2 separate regions of the Homo sapiens genome follow, and region 1 is linked to region 2. The links are contacts of gene promoters, found by promoter capture Hi-C in human tissues and cell types (Jung and others, 2019). All regions are on one chromosome and are shown on one strand. Each heading gives the region's core, a stretch centred on a gene start or on the middle of the fragment in contact. The rest is flanking DNA. Distances are from core to core; before and after follow the strand shown.

The links. The method cuts DNA at HindIII sites, captures the fragments that hold promoters and counts their contacts. A contact is called where the count stands out against the background at its distance.
Region 1: a fragment that was not itself captured here is called in contact with the fragment with the promoter of CLIC6 in region 2 in 1 of the 25 tissues and cell types used here (dorsolateral prefrontal cortex).

Annotation. Positions count from the first base shown.
Region 1 is chr21:35,672,072-35,675,394 of GRCh38, forward strand. No RefSeq gene overlaps it. Among named protein-coding and RNA genes, the nearest start is that of MIR802, 47 kb to the right of the region's middle. The HindIII fragment of the contact is 5,506 bases long and covers 1-3,323 here.
Region 2 is chr21:34,667,308-34,670,502 of GRCh38, forward strand. CLIC6 (chloride intracellular channel 6) reads left to right here and starts at 1,687. Exons shown (of 6, transcript NM_053277.3): 1 at 1,687-3,195. The coding sequence starts at 2,082. RefSeq lists a silencer at 1,980-2,419. The HindIII fragment of the contact is 4,429 bases long and covers 326-3,195 here.

The sequences.
Region 1 (3,323 bases), core at 483-2,982, 1.0 Mb after region 2:
AGTCATCTGTCATCAGGGTCAAACAGGTGCTGGTTTAGGGTATACCCATGTGCAAAATGGACACCGAGACTAGCAATGATGTTATTACTACTGCTAACATTTATCAAGTGCTTATTATGTACCAGTTGCCCTTCTCATCTTAACGGCTATCTATTAACTCCTGTTTTTCACTACGACCTGTGAAGTAATTCTTTTTCAAATGGAAACATCTGAAATGCAGATGTTCCAGAAATATCTCACCTGAGAGACTCTCTCTGAAGAAGACCTTAAATTGGTTGAGCCTAGGAGACAGACACTGTGGTTAGCAGGGTTCTAAGATGGTTCTCTGCTCCTCTCCCGAGATGCAATGCCTCATATAATCCCCTGCCCTTGATGTATGGAGGTCTATGACTCCATTTTGCCAGTATAACTACAGAGATCCCTGCTGGCCTTGCAGGAGCTAACTACCATGCTGCAACCTACCCATGGAGAGGGCCGTGTGTCCGGGAATGGTGGGGGCCCCTCAGAGCTGAGGGCCTGAGTCCTACAAATGCAACAACCTGAATTCTTCCAACCACCAGTGGGCTTGGAAGAGGACCCTGGTCTCAGCTGAGATGGGCACTGCAGCCAACACTTTGATTGCCACCTTTGAGACCCTAAGCAGAGAACCAGGTAAGCCGGGTCTAGGTCCCAGCACCATGACAACTGTGAGATAATAAATATGTATTGTTTTAAGCCACTAAGTTTGGTCAGTTTGTTATACAGTAAGGGAACCTAGTGTAGCCACTGTTAAATTAAAATGGAGACTGAGCCTGAAGACTCCCTGAGTAGACAAGCCTTAACTTTCATCGACTGGCAAACATAAGCAAAACTGAATTAAAGCTATTTCTTGTAAATGCCTATATTAAAGAAAAACAGAACTTAAGCCTAACCAATCAGAAAAAGCTAACAAACTTATAAAAAGAGGGACTTTCTAGCGGGATAGACCAAATAAGGCAACTGTGTAACTGTAGCCAATCAAATGTTTTCTCTTTGCTTTACTTCTGTGTTCATCTTCAAAAGCCTCCCCCATCCGAGAACGGTAGCTCGCACCTGTAATCCCAGCACTTTGGAAGGCCAAGATGGGTGGATCACTTGAGGTCAGGAGTTCGAGACCAGCCTGGCCAACATGCTGAAACCCCGTCTCTATGAAAAATAAATCAATGATACAAATATTAGCTGGGTGTGGTGGCATGCGCCTGTAGTCCCAGCTACTAAGGAGGCTGAGACAGGAGAATCACTTGAACCCAGGAGGTAGAAGTTGCAGTGAGCAGAGATCGTACCACTGCACTCCAGCCTGGGTGACAGAGCAAGACAGATGGAGAAAAAGCCTTCTCCATCTTCCCTCAGTGGAGCTCATGAACCACCTCTGGTTTGGTTGCTGTTTGCTCTATGAATTGCTGTTTGCTCAATAAGTGCTTTAAAATTTTACTGTGCCTCAGTTTACTTGCTTAATGACACCAACAGGGACAGGACTTGCACAGAGCATGAACATCCCTGATTGGATGGACAGTTCCTGTGGGGTGGGTCAGAGGAGGGAAGAACCTACCAAAACAGGACCACCACACACCCTGCCAAACAAGGGGCTTATTTTGCAGCTAACCAAGCCTATGGGGGCAAATCTGATCCGGCTCCCATTGTGCCAGGAAACCTGATATCTTCTTTAGCCTTTGTATAGACTTAAGAGCACTGGAGAATGCCTCCGAAAAATGCACAGATGGGCAGTATTGTGTACACTTCAGGCAGATTTCAGGCCCCTGAAATTTCCCCTTGTGTCCTCTGCTTCCATACCCAGGAACCCCCACTCTGGATCATGCTTTCCCAAGGTGGGGCCATATGGTACCCAAGGAAATGAGAAGCGGTTTTGGGGGGGGAAATAAAAATATCTTATTATTTTTATGCATGTAGCACAAATAAACATAGGATACATAAACAGATTTACAGTATATCTGTGGTGTTATAATTTCATGGGAGACAAGAAAACAATGTCTTAAAAAGCTTAAAACAGGGAGAAGATAATGAAAAAAGGTGGAGAAACACTGGTGTAGACAATAATAGTTCATGGTCAAAACAGAGAGAGGCTTTGAGACACTGATAATACTCTACGTCTTGTCCTGGCTGGTGGTTACATCGATGTGTTTGCCTTCTGAAAATCCACAAGCACATGCTAAAGATCTGTACGCTTTATGTAAGGCACACTTCATCAAGAGGAACGTTTAGCAACAATTGGAAAAGCAGAATCCAATGTTCTGACACTTCTAGCTAAAGACGCTGTCACGCTGGAGTGAAACACACAGACGCCAGGCAGATATCGAGGCTCTATCTCAGTTCCTCCTTTTCCTCGTGTGCGACCTTGGCTAAATAACACACTTCCAAGCCTCAGCGTTCTCATCGGGAAAATGGGTTTAATAATACAATCTGCCTCAAAGGGTAGTGGTGAGATTAAATGAGTTTATACATGTAGAGTACTTAGGACAGTGTGTGAAACAGCACACGCTACAGAAGTTCTGCTAGTTCTGCTGTCCTGATTTGTTGTTGTTGTTATTGTTGTTGTTGTTGTTTGTTGTTTGTTTGAGACAGGGTTTCCCTCTGTTGCCCAGGCTGGAGTTCAGTGGCACAATCTCGGTTCACTACAACCCCTCCTTCCCGGGTTCAAACAATTCTCATGCCTCAGCCTCCTGAGTAGCTGGGATTACAGGTGCGCACCACCACTCCAGGCTAATTTTTGTTATGTTTTTAGTGGAGACGTGGTTTCACCATGTTGGCCAGGCTGGTCTCGAACTCCTGGCCTCAGGTGATCCACCAGCCTGAGCCTCCCAAAGTGTTGGGATTACAGGCATGTGCCACCGCACCTGCCCATCCTGGTTTTATTGAAGCTCTTTCTGCTTTGTCCTTTCTCTATCAACTTTAAGTTTCTGAAGAACGGGAAAAACCACCAGCGGTTATCTTTCCCCAGCCCACAGTGTGGTGCTCTGCAAAAGCTAGATGCTCACAGTGTTGTGGTTGAAGTTGTGGAATCATTTACTTTCTTGTGGCATTTTGATACAGTTCAGAATTATTGATCTTGGTTTCTGGGAACAATATGGTTACATATTAGATACTTTCAGACCAAATTCTGTTTTCTCCTTTAAAAATAAGGTAAAGGGTCACAGCTCCCCAGGCTTGACATAGACGAATGACCAACTGCGAGTCAGGAGCCCACGGCTCTCCTTCCATCTCTGCTGGCCACCGGCTGAGGGATCTTTAATAAAAAATTATTTCTCCCACACACACAGGCCTGGGTTTTCTCATCTGGACAATGAGAC
Region 2 (3,195 bases), core at 437-2,936:
TTTATACACATTCTGAAATCCTAAAAGGCTCTGAATACTGAAAGCTGTTTTGGGAACTCATCTAGAATCAGAACCAGAAAGGCTTGAACTCAGCTGGAGGTGAACCTAAACTGGGGGTGGGGGGCCTGAAGCTTGTATGATTTTACCATATCTCACCAAATGTGATGCCTGTCTTACTGCAGAAATATTAATGTGTTTGATCACAAAGTGATGTTCTGTGTTATGTAATATACAGTAAAATCACTCAATCATCTTTCTAACAATTCTGTTTTCTGAAACACATCCGGGCTCATGGGATTTGCATAAAGCACTGTAAACCTGTACTGTGTTTGCTGTTCCGGGCTGAACGTGCTGGCTTCATCTTTCTTTACAAGATAAGGGTGATGGCTGCTACCTTGCCCCGGTGAATGCAGCAGGATTCCTTTTCTAGGTGCCTAGAGCTTTTACGGCTCACGTGCATCTCTGGCTCACCTGTGTGAGTGTCATGCTTTGACTAGATGCCACTTTGTGGTGATGAAGCTTCTGGCCTGTACCTACCCAGACAGAGCACAGCCTTGGAGAAAGGTAGCATGAAGCTGAGTGTCTCTGGGCTCCTGTCCTGTCATCCATCAGTGATGAGCAATGGGAAGTAGAAGGAGACACATTATGTTCATGGCCAAAGGTGTGACCCCAAGCCACATCAAAGGCACACCCAGCTCTTTCAACGAAAACAACCTTCTGTGGGCATGAGGGGCTCATGTATCTTAGGCCAATATCAAAGCCATATAAAGCCTGATGAATCAAGTCAGTCTTGAGCTGGGATCCCCGTTCCACCACATTTACATAGTGCCACCTTGGGTAACCCAGTTTCTTGGTAACCCACTAGAAGTAGCCTGGCTTATAATAAACTTACGACATACTTTTCACCATAATAACTTCCTTTTTAAAGTAGGTATTGGGTCTGTGATCCTGGGAGAACCCTAACCCAGGGAATTCCATAGCTCCCCTCTTTCACATCTTGGATTTTCTTTTCTCCACCTCCAGATTCCCAAGCTCTTAACTTGGAGGCAGAAGCACTGGTGGTGAGTTTAGAAATCTAGGAGAATCAGCAAGATACACAGACTCTTACAGTCTTAAGAGACCCGGGAGATGAAGGTGTAACCTTTTTCCAGCGCAGGGCTCCCACGATCCTCCAGACAGGCCCGGAGAAGCGGACCCTCATGGACAACAGCGCCCATCTCTGGTCAGAGAAACTCGACTGGCTCCTTGTGCGTCTATATGAGGGGCCTCTGGAACCTCTCCGGGGGCCCTGCAGACATGGGAAGGCGGCCAGCGTAGCCTCCCCAGCTTCTTCTCTCAGGGATTTACACCCTTGCTCTTGGACATCAGGCACAATGTGGACATCTTCAGTTGGGTACCGGGGGAGCTTGATGCTTCACTCCTGGGGTAAGGTGGGGATTAGGTGTTTGGGTGTCGGGGTGTGTGTTTGGAGGGGGTGATTTAAGTGACTCTGGAACTTGAAGCCATTCTAGAGAACAACACCCAAGCGGCCAGGAGAACCAGAATCTTTTCATCAACATCCACAAGGGTCACGAGAAAGGCTGTCATTGGCCAAGCTCCTAGGCTACCCAAACAAAGGAGGGAGGAGGGGAAGACAAACCCCGCCCAAGCCCCAGGGGATGGAGTTGGCACCAAGGACTTCTGGTCAACCCCAGGACAGCGGACAGCGGGCCGGGCACTTCCAAAGGCGCAGGAGCGAAGCAGCCCTCTCCAGCCGTGCACTGCACCTCCGCGGCCCGCGGGCGAGATTGGGGTCCCGGTGGGAAGCAGACGCGCAATCGGGGAGAAGCTCCAGCAGTGGAGGAAGAGTCCAGGGAGTTTCAGCTGGGCAGAAGGGGCGCAGAGGCTTGGGGCCAAGCGGAGTTTGCCCTGCGGGTCCTGCGCAAGGCCCCAGTGCCCCGGCTAAACCTTTGCCGCAGGATCCCGGAGCCGGCGTCCTTCAAGGAGCACAGAGGGCCCCGTAGCACGCCCCTTGCCCAGCGCCACCGACCCTTAAGCAGCGTCAAGGAAGGAGTCCCGATCAAGGACAGGGATCTGCGGCCATGGCCGAGGCCGCGGAGCCGGAGGGGGTTGCCCCGGGTCCCCAGGGGCCGCCGGAGGTCCCCGCGCCTCTGGCTGAGAGACCCGGAGAGCCAGGAGCCGCGGGCGGGGAGGCAGAAGGGCCGGAGGGGAGCGAGGGCGCAGAGGAGGCGCCGAGGGGCGCCGCCGCTGTGAAGGAGGCAGGAGGCGGCGGGCCAGACAGGGGCCCGGAGGCCGAGGCGCGGGGCACGAGGGGGGCGCACGGCGAGACTGAGGCCGAGGAGGGAGCCCCGGAGGGTGCCGAGGTGCCCCAAGGAGGGGAGGAGACAAGCGGCGCGCAGCAGGTGGAGGGGGCGAGCCCGGGACGCGGCGCGCAGGGCGAGCCCCGCGGGGAGGCTCAGAGGGAGCCCGAGGACTCTGCGGCCCCCGAGAGGCAGGAGGAGGCGGAGCAGAGGCCTGAGGTCCCGGAAGGTAGCGCGTCCGGGGAGGCGGGGGACAGCGTAGACGCGGAGGGCCCGCTGGGGGACAACATAGAAGCGGAGGGCCCGGCGGGCGACAGCGTAGAGGCGGAGGGCCGGGTGGGGGACAGCGTAGACGCGGAAGGTCCGGCGGGGGACAGCGTAGACGCGGAGGGCCCGCTGGGGGACAACATACAAGCCGAGGGCCCGGCGGGGGACAGCGTAGACGCGGAGGGCCGGGTGGGGGACAGCGTAGACGCGGAAGGTCCGGCGGGGGACAGCGTAGACGCGGAGGGCCGGGTGGGGGACAGCGTAGAGGCGGGGGACCCGGCGGGGGACGGCGTAGAAGCGGGGGTCCCGGCGGGGGACAGCGTAGAAGCCGAAGGCCCGGCGGGGGACAGCATGGACGCCGAGGGTCCGGCAGGAAGGGCGCGCCGGGTCTCGGGTGAGCCGCAGCAATCGGGGGACGGCAGCCTCTCGCCCCAGGCCGAGGCAATTGAGGTCGCAGCCGGGGAGAGTGCGGGGCGCAGCCCCGGTGAGCTCGCCTGGGACGCAGCGGAGGAGGCGGAGGTCCCGGGGGTAAAGGGGTCCGAAGAAGCGGCCCCCGGGGACGCAAGGGCAGACGCTGGCGAGGACAGGGTAGGGGATGGGCCACAGCAGGAGCCGGGGGAGGACGAAG